Regions from separate parts of the Homo sapiens genome. Here region 1 is linked to region 2. Evidence: promoter capture Hi-C in 16 types of primary human blood cells and fetal thymus (Javierre and others, 2016). All regions are on one chromosome and are shown on one strand. The core of a region is centred on a gene start or on the middle of the fragment in contact, and the rest is flanking DNA. Distances in the headings are between cores, read along the strand shown.

Region 1 (6,018 bases), core at 2,620-5,119, 520 kb before region 2:
ATTGTGGAAAACAGTTTGGCAATTTCCCAAAAAGTTAAGCATAGAATTATATGATCTGACAAATCCATTCCTAGGTATATACCCAGATAAAAACAGGTAGTCAAATACTTGTACACATAGCAGCACTATTCGCAAGAGCCAAAAGGCAAAAACAACCCAGGTGTCCACTGATAGATAAATGGATAAATAAAATGTAGTATATACAGAATACAAAATACTATTCAGCCAAAAAGGAATGAAGTACTGATACATGGTTCAGCATAGGTGAACCTGGAAAACATGATGCTAAGTGAAAGAAGTCAGACACGAAAGGTCATATATTGTGTGATTTCATTTATATGAAATTATCCAGAATAGGTAAACCCACAGAGACAGAAAGCAGATCGGTATTTGCCAGGGGCTGGGGGGGAGGGGAGAATGGGAAATGACTGCTTAGTGGGTACAGGGTTTCCTTTTGGGGTGATGAAAATGTTTTAGAATAATAGAAGTGGTGGTTTCACAAAATGTACAAAATGTCACTTTAAAATTATTACATCCTGTTACAAGAATTTCACCTTAATAAAAAATGTCTGAGTGTGAACAGAGAAACAATCAAAGCTGAATCTGGGTTAAGGGACCAAAAACAGAGGCATGAACACCTGGAGGTCACATTGGAGATTGCAGATTCTGAGAGGTGGAAAAACACGTGTCTGAGGATAATGAAAAAATATAAAACAGCTCTCTGCCTGTTGAGCACAATAAACATTTGAAAGATGTGGACGGTTGGTAAAAAGTAGATAACACTGCTCGGGGGCCATCAGGTCACAATCTCTTCACAGAAGAGCATTGCACATTTTGACTCAACCTCAGAATCAGCCCTCATGTGTTTGCTTTACTTACATTTCCAACCACTGCTCTCTCCTGGACCTCAGAATACCTATATCTGCTTCCTGCAAACACACTCAAAGTTAGTTTCTATTTCTTCCTCCCTACAATCCCAGTATGACTGAAGTCCATTGGAATTTAGAACCTTGCTGCTTAGTGTGGTCCATGGACAGGCAGCATTGGTGTCACCTGGGAGCCTCTTAGAAATGCAGAATCTCAGTCCCTATTCCCCAATCAGCATTTTAATAAGATTCCCCCAAGTAATTTATATGCACATTTAAGTTTGACAAATTTCCAACTTTCCATCTATAAAAATCAAAATGAAGAAACAAACGAGATTTATTTTCTCTAGGAAGTCATGATGCTTGATTTTATTTACAATTATTGTTTTGTTCTGTTAGTTTTGCCACCCAGGGCTTGAGTTAAAGGAAATGGGATTATTTTTCAATATGGTTTGTCTTTTCCACTAAATTTTCTAAAAGGAGTCAGGATAGTGCCCAACCCACTTCAAAGAATGTAGGCTGGCATGAGTCATTGTTTTTCATGGTTGTTTCAAAGATTAATTTCATTTGCCCCACATTTTTGCAACAGTGGTCTTCTTTCCCTTCCTAAATCACTCCAGGCTCTTTCCTGCATCACGGCTTTTCACACATGATTCCCTCTGCCCTAAAATCTTCTTCATTTGACTTTTCCTGTTTAACTTTTCACACCCTTTAAATATCAGATGAGATGTTACTTTTCCAGGAAGTCCTTTCTTCATCACTCCGTCCAAAGCAGGTCCCCGTGTTTTTCTCTATGAAGGTGCCCTGCTTATTTTTTTTGCTGGCCTCACATTTTCTAATTATGTACACATTTGTGTGAATGTATGACTGTGTGTAAGCTAAGTAGCATAGTGAAGTGGCTATGAGCACAGACTCCGGAGCCAAGCTTCCTGATTTCCAATTCTAGCAGCCACTTCTCTCCTCCTGGGTCTCAGAACACCTGCATCTGCCTCCTGTAAACTCATTCAAATGTGTTTCTCTTTCTATACCCATTTCCCCCATAAATGTGGGGCAGTGAGCAAGTTACTTTAGTGTTCTGTGCCTTCTTTCCCCATCTGTGAAGTGGAGATTGGAGCACTGTATATTTCATAGGGTCATTATAAGAAGTATTCATGGAAATAGGGAGAAGAAGAGGAGTTTTAACACAAGGACATTCAGAATATTTTATTCTAGAGGTGGAAATAATTTTGCAGGGTGGTAAAAATGAAGCAAAAACTCAAGATTCTGCTCCTAGATCAGGAAGTGGCTCTTGAATGAAGGAAAGAATTCTCTCTCTTTCTGCATTTTATATATATTTCCCAAAGTTCTGTTCTCATTCCAGTTTTCTCCTCAGCTTAACATATCTCTATGCCATTGATTTTTAAGTCTCTAGCCTCAGCTCTACCCCTAGTCCTAAGTTCCCAGGATCCTCCACGTAACTTCCTCATGTATAGCACACTGACATCCTAAAATCAGTAGGTCCAAAATTGAACTCACCTTCCTCCTGTGGCTGCTCTCCACCTTCCAATTTTGTCACTTTCTTTGGCTATCCTGTCTGAAATTTCACTGCCGTCTTTACCATATTTCATCTCTCCCTTTCCTTCTTGATTTATTTCTTCCTACCCAATACACTATTTTACTTGTTTATCTTTTTTTACAGTTTGTCTCCTGCTAAAATGTTAACTCCATGAGGGCAGGAATTTTTGCTTGCTTTGTTCATGATGTATTCATGCAAACTAGAAGAGTGCCAAGCATTCAGTAGGTGCTCAATGAATATTTATTCCTTTCTCATTCCAATTACCAATTACTCTACTTAACTCCATATTGATGGGATCTCTTGCTTCAGTCTCTTCTTTCTCTTATGCTGCTGCCACACTTGTTGAACTGTTATTTTTTCTCATAACTATTACAAGAGCTTGTCGCATGCTGGCTAATGAAATTTGGGCAAATTATTTAAATTAAGTTCACCTCAGTTCTTCATTTTAAAATGGAGATATTAATAGTATAAATTCATAGAATTCTCATGAGACTCATAACGTGTGTACAGCACCTGGCACAATACTTGAAATACAATAAGTGCTCAGTGAATGCTTCCTACTTTTATCTGCTACCCTGGGCTAGCTCTGGACTAGATTTCCATTGGTCTCCTGGACTATCTCTGCCTGAATGCTACACTTTGTCTCCCGTGGACCACTTGTAGTTCCCCAAATGTGATATGAATCTTCATCTTCTCCATATAATGGACAGCAGGAAACAAGAAGCCAGCTGGATCAGTTCATTCTTTTCTCACTGCCATATATAATGCATTGCTGGACTAGCTAGCCCTAATTTGCACTAAAGGAGGGGAGAGATGGAAACCTTTTTTTTTGCAATGAGCAAAAGGTGAGAGGGTTATTTTTGGTGTGTTTGGTTGGGCCCAGAAAATTTGGCTCAACTGAATAATAGGTTTTTAATAATTTAGATGAGGATAGTGAGGTTCAGGAAGGATAAGTAACCTCCCTGAGGTTCACAGTACGATAGTAGATACATTGGTATGAGGGCCCATTTTCTTGGTCTTGGTACTCTTTATAACACAAGATGCTGGTCATAAACCACAAACAGTCTTGTCTTCAAAAGCTTATTTCCTCTGCCCCAGCAAATAACTTTCTTACATGCAGACACAATTGAAATTGTTCACCGACAACCATCTCAGGCTTATCGCATCCAAAGTTGAGAGGAGGTAGTAGTATATCAGGTAACACTGCCAGCGTCCCCTTTCCCGCCCCAATCCCTTGGCAGAGAGCCAGACAACTGTATACAGACGATTTAGGTTGAGCAAGCTGCACAAAACCAGGGAGTCACTCAGTGACTACACCGATCTGGATTGACATTTACCTGGGCCAAAGCAGAAGACAAACAGGAGCGATTGGAACAGCCACAACATGCTTTCCGCGGTGAAGACTGGTGCTTGAGACCTTGAGGCAGTCAATGTTTTTGCCCTTCTGTCATAAACTGAAAATACTTCTGAGACTTCCCCTTCCTCTTAGAGGCGTGGTGACAACTTCTTCCCCTGCACTAAAAATCCTAATTTGTAACTGTGTTAATTTTTTGTTTACTTTTTTCTGAGCTAAGTGCACAAATTTTTTTTTTTTTTGGAAAAGAAGATAAAGTCCTTTATTGCATCTTTCATAAACTTATATGTAAAAGTCTGTAAGGAATTTCCTAAAATCTACTAGAACAAATAAATGAGTTCAGCAAGGTGAAAAGATACAAAATCAAAATATAAAATTCAATTGCAATTGTATATACTAGCTATGAGTAATCCAAAAATAAAATTCAAAAAACAATTCCACTCTAATTACATTAGAAAAAAATATTTAAGTATAAAGCTAAGAAAAAGCCAAAAGAAAACTGATTTTTTAAAATTATACTTTAAGTTCTAGGGTACATGTGCACAATGTGCAGGTTTGTTACATATGTATACATATGCCATGTTGGTGTGCTGCACCTATTAACTTGTCATCTACATTAGATATTTCTCCTAATGCTATCCCTCCCCTTGCCCCCCACCCCGTGACATACCCCAGTGTATGATGTTCCCCTACCTGTGTCCATGTGTTCTCATTGTTCAGTTCCCACCTATGAGTGAGAACATGCGTTGTTTGGCTTTCTGTTCTTGTGTTAGTTTGCTGAGAATGATGGTTTCCAGCTTCATCCATGTCCCTGCAAAGGACATGAACTCATCCTTTTTTATGGCTGCATGGTATTCCATGGTATATATATGCCACATTTTCTTTATCCAGTGTATCATTGATGGGCATTTGGGTTGGTTCCAAGTCTTTGCTATTGTGAACAGTGCTGCAATAAACATAAGTGTGCATGTGTCTTTATAGCAGCATGATTTATAATCCTTTGGGTATATAACCAGTAATGGGATTGCTGGGTCAAATGGTATTTCTAGTTCTAGATCCTTGAGGAATCGCCACACTGTATTCCACAATGGTTGAACTAGTTTACACTCCCACCAACAGTGTGAAAACATTCCCATTTCTCTACATCCTCTCCAGCATCTGTTGTTTCCTGATTTTTTAATGATTGCCATTCTAACTGGCATGAGATGGTATCTCATTGTAGTTTTGATTTGCATTTCTCTAATGACCAGTGATGATGAGCTTTTTTCATATGTTTCTTGGCCGCATAAATGTCTTCTTTTGAGAAGTGTCTTCATATCCTTTGCCCACTTTTTGTTGGGGTTTTTTTTTTTTTCTTGTAAATTTGTTTGAGTTCTTTGTAGATTCTGGATATTAGCCTTTTGTCAAATGGATAGACTGCAAAAATTTTCTCCCATTCTGTAGGTTCCCTGTTCACTCTGATGATAGTTTCTTTTGCTGTGCAGAAGCTCTTTAGTTTAATTAGGTCCCATTTGTCAATTTTGGCTTTTGTTGCCATTGATTTTGATGTTTTAGTATTGAAGTCTTTGCCCATGCCTTTGTCCTGAATGGTATTGCCTAGGTTTTCTTCTGGGGTTTTTGTGGTTTTAGGTCTAACATTTAAGTCTTTAATCCATCTTGAGTTAATTTTTGTGTAAGGTATAAGGAAGGGAACCAGTTTCAGTTTTCTGCATAATTGCTAGCCAGTTTTCCCAACACCATTTATTAAATAGGGAATCCTTTCCCCATTGCTTGTTTTTGTTAGGTTTGTCAAAGATCAGATGGTTGTAGATGTGTGATGTTATTTCTGAGGCCTCTGTTCTGCTCCATTGGTCTATATATCTGTTTTGGTACCAGTACCATGCTGTTTTGGTTACTGCAGCCTTGTAGTATAGTTTGAAGTCAGTTAGCGTGCTGCCTCCAGCTTTGTTCTTTTGGCTTACAATTGTCTTGGCTATATGGGCTCGTTTTTGGTTCTGTATGAAATTTAAAGTAGTTTTTTCTAATTCTGTGAAGAAAGTCAATAGTAGTTTGATGGAAATAGCATTGAACCTATAAATTACTTTGGGCAATATGGCCATTTTCATGATATTGATTCTTCCTATCTATGAGCATGGAATGGTTTTCCATTTGTTTGTGTACTTTCTTATTTCCTTGAGCAGTGGTTTGTAGTTCTCCTTGAAGAGGTCCTTCACATCCCTTGTAAGTTGTATTCCTAGGTATTA
Region 2 (5,674 bases), core at 3,175-5,674:
AAAAAAAAAAAAAAAAAAAAGAAAAGAAAAAAAAAAAACGACCCCCACAAGGGGGAAGGCCCCAAGTGGGCCCCTGCCTGTTGTTCTCTCTGGCTCCAGAGATGTCTGCATAGGCCTCAGCTTCTCACTGGCCAATCTCCTCTTCATGGGCACCAGCCACTGCTAAACATCCTTCCCTCACTTCTTGTGTAAGCTTGCTCCCCTGAGCCACAGGTTGCACATCTAAACCTCAGCTCCAGGGAAAGGAAGAACCAATGGAAGTGCCAGAGTCCTGGGGCAAGCCAGAGCATCACCTGTCAGCAAACCTCTGCTGGGCACTCTAAGCAAGCACAGGACAAGCCCCAGAGTTTAGTGTGTCCAGTATCCAGCATGGAGACAGCACATGCATTGTGCGAGAGGAGCACAAGGGCCCAGGGGCTGCATGGTGGGGGTGGGCAAGGCTGTCAGTGCACGTCCACATTGTGTGTTTCACACCACTGCAGGCCGCCATATCACAGGGCCTCAGTTCAAGGACACACCTTCTGAACTTCCCCCTGTCCCATGCCAGAAGTGGGGCAGTGAAGGAAAGGGGCACGGGATTAGGCTGTTGCTCCTGGGCTATCTGCAGTTCTTGGGCCCAAAGCCCCTGAATCCCCATAGTTAGTTGCTGTCATTCTTGATGACGACCTCTAATCCGTGGTGCCGCAACTGAGCTCGAAGCAGCAGATTCTTGTTTTTAAGATCTTCCACCTGACATGGGAAGGAGGCAGTAAAGGGAATGGGTAGTAAAGCTGGCACTTCCAAGCCCCTGAATGTATTCAGACATCCACTGGTGAGGGGGAAAAGATGAAGCCTTCTCCATGGAGAACAAAGTAGAGGGTGTCAAACTGGGTCAGTGGCTAGCAGAACTGAGAAGGGCTGCACTGGGGGTAGGAGTCTGACCTGTTGTCGAAGCACGTCATTGTCCAGCTGCAGTTGGTCAAGTCCCTGCAGTTCTTCAGACAAGCGGTGGTTACTCTGCCGAAGCTCCTGGATATAATCACAAGCTTTGGATAGAATCCCACCTTTACTCTGCAAGATAAGGTCAACAAAATGAGAACTAGGATTTCAGATACCCAGCTTGCTTTCCAAAAGTAGGTTCACACTTTGGACCTCATTTTCATCTAAGGAAGGTGGTATAATATCTCCCAGGGATACAGGAACCTCAGGGAGAGATAAGACTACTGTCATGTGTGCCCCTCTCTCTACCATTTCTGGAAACAATACCAGGAGGCAGAATTCAGGCATCCTGCCCACTACCAGGGTCTTTCCATGACCTGGCCAGACTTGGTGCTCTCCATAGAGCAGTCTGGGATTATCTTGGAGAGCTGCACGATCCAGTTGTTGATCTTGTCTCGGCGGCGACGCTCCACTGTGGGGCAAAGTGGAGGACAAGGTGACTCAGTGAAAACTCGCCACAAGTCCCAGGGTAAAATTACCTAATCCCTCCTCCCCTCAGACATCACTGCTGAGATCACACCAGACAGCTTCTAGCTCCACCCAGATCATACCTACCTTCATTATGCTGAGCCCTGCGTTTCTCATCCCGAGTCGTCCGGGGAGCTTCTGACTTCCTGACAACAGAGCCCAGGGTGGCCAGAGTAAGAAGACAAAATACATGATTGAAGTTTGGGGTTAAGGAATTATACAAGATTTAGCAGGTATTAGGACCACTTATGGTAGCTAGGTGTGGTGTCTCACACCTGTAATCCCAGCACTTTGGGAGGCCGAGGCAGGCGGATCACTTGAGGTCAGGAGTTCGAGACCAGCCTGGCCAACATGGTGAAACCCTGTCTCTACTAAAGATACAAAAATTAGCCAGGGGTGGTGGTACATGTCTGTAGTTCCAGCTACTCAGGAGGCTGAGGCATGAGAAACGCTTGAACCCTGGAAGCAGAGGTTGCAGTGAGCTGAGATCATGCCACTGCACTCCAGCCTGGGTGACAGAGCAAGACTCTGTCTCAAAAAAAAAAAAAAAAAAAAAAAACCACTTACGGAATCTGAGAAGAAACAAGGGTCACTCACGGGGAATAAGGGTGAGTCCTAGGGGCAATTGAGCGCTGGCTTCCTCCCTGCAGTACTTCTTGTGGTGACATCATCACAAAGAATTGACCTGTGAAGATGCAGGGTAGGTTCTGTCAGGACATGGGTAGGAACCTCACCAAGCCCTGAGGTGAAGACCCTGGTCCCCTCCTCTAAAAAGAACATGCTAATAGAAGAGCAGCCCCAGACTCACTGCCTGTCCAGGTCTTAATGATCACTAAGAGTCATGAGTGAAGGCTCACTGCCTACCAGTCATGTCCCACAGCCTATTCTAGCCCTTTCAGCCAGCATCCTCATGCAATATCTCACCAGTGCCAGGAGGGGTCGCCTGCCCCAGCAGTGCCTCTGAGCCCTGGGTAGTAACAACAGCAGCTGTACTCCCCGATGTGGTACCCCCTGCCCCATCTCCCACTGCCGTGCTGGGGAAGTAAGTATAGTGCGTCTCAGCAGCTGTCCCCTCCGTGTCAACTGCATCATCACTGGTGAAAGCACCCTGGATCACCGCCTGGGAAGGGGAGCAAGAAAACTGATTCTGGTAACAGTCAAAAACTTCTTCCCACTACACCACTCTGCAGCTTCTATCCGTTGGGGTGGTAGGTAGGGTGGAGAGAGAGAGAGAGAGAGAGAGAAACATCCAGAAAAGGAGAGCCTAGTGCTTTGGGACAAGGCAGCCTTAGATGCCTCACTGTTCCTAGCTTCACCCCCATCCTACTGATTCCCTTCTTCATCTTACTTCTCAGAACTCTAGTGACCTCCCCAGCCCATACCCTGTACCTGGGTCATGGATTGAGTGGCAGGGTAGCCACTGATGGCGCCAGTTCCCTCAGTTTGGCCATCCAGCTGCCCCTCAGACACCTGGATCACCCTGTACATCACCTAGAAGTGTAGAGGAAGGCAGAGGGAGTGAAGAGAGAAGAAAAGATTAAGTGTTGGGAATCCTAGGGCCCCTCATAAAGCTTCCCTTGGATAGGGCCCCAAAACAAAGTCCTTCAGAGACATGGATTCAGCCATTCTCCCTTCTTTCCCCACACAGAGGTTTCAGCATACATCTAACCTCACACCAGTCTCTACTCCAGTATTAGCACCTCCCTCCCCTGCAACAGTCCACTCTTTCAACTCATCCTCCAAGCCAGGTCTCCCCAAGACATGTTCAATTACCTCCCTCAATCCCAACCCCAGATAACACCTGCAGCCACCTGGCCCCCTCCCTTACCTGGCCCCCATTCTCAGTTCGGAAGACGTACTTGACGTTGGGGTCAGGGAAGGTGGCAGCTGACTGGATGCTGGCAATAGCCACACTGGTTGGGTCTTCCCCAGTAGCCACTGCACCTGAATTAAAAGAACAAAGGAAAAGTCTGTGAGTTAACTGCCTTTCTACCCCCGTTCCATTTGCATGTCACGGAAGGAGGAGGATGCACAGGAGATGGTCTGGTGGGGAAGGAAGGGAGGCCATGATGGGTTCTTAGTCTTGGTTCTGTTTCTAGCACTCACCTTCCTGAATCTGCACTGTCCCCTCTTCCGTTTCAGCTGTTTTCTGCTGCCTGTTTGTGGTGAAAGGACAAAAGGAAGAGTATGAGAAGAAGTCAATGAGAAGCTCACTGGCCCAGTAACATATGGCTGCAAACTCATTGGCATTCCCAACAGAAGCTGGGTTAGGTTAGAATAACAACTAGTGTTTACTGTTTACTATGTACATAAGCACTAAGCTAAGTACATTACATGTAATCTTATTTAGTACTAAAAACAGCACCACGAGATAGATAGCACTACTTCCATTTTATAGATAGAGAAACCAAATCACACAGTAAGTGATAGAGTAGAACCTGAATCCAGGTCTGCCTGACTCCAGAGGCAGTGCTCTTGGTCATTTTGCATTCTTCCAGGCCACCCATCTTTCATCCCAGACCCTACCTCTTCTTCACTCACCCCTTCATCTCTCTGTGAGGGGGCACATCCGAGGAACTGGTCCTTTTTTGGAGGTCTTTGTATCTCCTGATTCACAGGCCTGAGTGCTAAGTCCTGGTAGAAATCATGAAGTTTGCAATGAGTTTAGGAAACAGAACAGTATCTCTGGTTCTAGAACTTAGGTTCCATGAACACATAGCCAGGAAAATAACCCAGTCATCTGCAGGGGACAATCAGCCTCCACCATACTGATGTTGAGGACTGGCCTACAGTGATTGAAAAAGCAAGGCTACAAATAGTGTTCCCCATCCCTCCATTATCACTCCAACTCCTGGTGGAGAGTGGATAATTATACTGGAAGACAGAAACAACACTTTTTTTTTTTTTTTTTTTTTGAGACAGAGTCTCTCTCTGTCACCCAGGCTGGAGTGCAGTGGCGCGATCTCAGCTCACTGCAACCTCTGCCTCCCAGGTTCAAGTGATTCTCCTGCCTCAGCCTCCGGAGTAGCTGGGATTACAGGTGCACACCACCACGCCTGGCTAATTTTTGTATTTTTAGTAGAGACGGGGTTTCACCATGTTGGCCCGGCTGGTCTCGAACTCCTGAGAGCATGATCTGTCCACCTCGGCAGCCTCCCAAAGTGCTGGGATTACAGGTGTGAGCCACTGCACCTGGCCGAAACAACACATTTCTTTCTTTTTTTTTTTTTTTTTTCTGAGACAGAATCTTGCTCTGTCACCCAGGCTGGAGTGCAGTGGCACAATCTCGGCTTACAACCTCCATCTCCTGGGTTCAAGTGATTCTCCTGCCTCAGCCTCCTGAATAGCTGGGATTATAGGTGCCCACCACCACGCCCAGCTAATTTTTGTATTTTCAGTAGAGATGGGGTTTTACCATATTGGCCAGGCTGGTCTGGAACTCCTGACCTCAGGTGATCCGCCTGCCTCGGCCTCCCAAAGTGCTTGGATTACAGGCATGAGCCACCGCACCCAGCCAACAACACATCTCTAAATGGATCATTAAAGCTATTATGACCTGCCATGATGGCAGCTTCATGGGAATCAGGAAGGGCCATGTATTGGCCCCACCATCAAAAAATACAGTGTCATGGACACTGATGCTTCTTCCAGTTTCTCAGCCACATGTTGTCCATCAAGACATTTCTGTTTTCAAACCTAGGAAGAGGAAATCTGAAGCCCACTACCACTGGAAGAATATCCCTGACCACAAAGACTAGACTTGGCATTTGGGCCCCATTCTACTGACAGGACTCTTGTTTTGGGGTATCCAGATTTATATAATCTGTTAGAAACCCTAAAGCCCAAGTGGATCCTCTTCAAGCATTCTCTATTTTATTCATCAAGCCTTCCTGCAGAACAACACTGTTGCTAAAATGTTGCTATGACAACTCCAAATCAACTAAGCCTGAGCAAGAAGGGGTAAAAAAAAAAAAAACAGGGTTCTGAAGAAGAGACAAAGGGGGAAGAATCCACCTACAAGCTCTGCCTTAGGACCCTGACACCCAGCCAGAGGGCAGGAAAAACAAAGAGCTGGGCAGACATGCCTCCAGAAAGAAACAGCTACACAGTACAAAGCAATAAGATAATCCCAACACAAAAGGGGCAAGATTTTTGGAAATTCTCTACCCATAAGGTCCTCCAAACCTTTCCTATCCAAGGAAAATTTTCAATGGATAAGCCTCGGAAA

Evidence for each region. The method cuts DNA at HindIII sites, captures the fragments that hold promoters and counts their contacts. A CHiCAGO score of 5 or more calls a contact.
Region 1: the fragment with the promoter of SLAMF6 here is called in contact with a fragment that was not itself captured in region 2 in 1 of 17 cell types (total B cells); the score reaches 5.4 in total B cells.

Annotation. Positions count from the first base shown.
Region 1 is chr1:160,519,386-160,525,403 of GRCh38, forward strand. SLAMF6 (SLAM family member 6) reads right to left here and starts at 3,870. Exons shown (of 8, transcript NM_001184714.2): 1 at 3,759-3,870. The coding sequence starts at 3,807. RefSeq lists an enhancer at 3,655-3,704. The HindIII fragment of the contact is 3,138 bases long and covers 3,499-6,018 here.
Region 2 is chr1:161,039,281-161,044,954 of GRCh38, forward strand. It overlaps USF1 (upstream transcription factor 1), which reads right to left. Exons shown (of 11, transcript NM_007122.5): 2 at 3,988-4,080; 3 at 3,553-3,602; 4 at 3,275-3,390; 5 at 2,836-2,937; 6 at 2,371-2,566; 7 at 2,044-2,131; 8 at 1,534-1,592; 9 at 1,296-1,390; 10 at 922-1,050; 11 at 1-729. The coding sequence starts at 3,995. The coding sequence ends at 640. Among named protein-coding and RNA genes, the nearest start is that of TSTD1, 3.2 kb to the left of the region's middle. RefSeq lists enhancers at 2,477-2,636, 5,497-5,674. The HindIII fragment of the contact is 2,818 bases long and covers 3,016-5,674 here.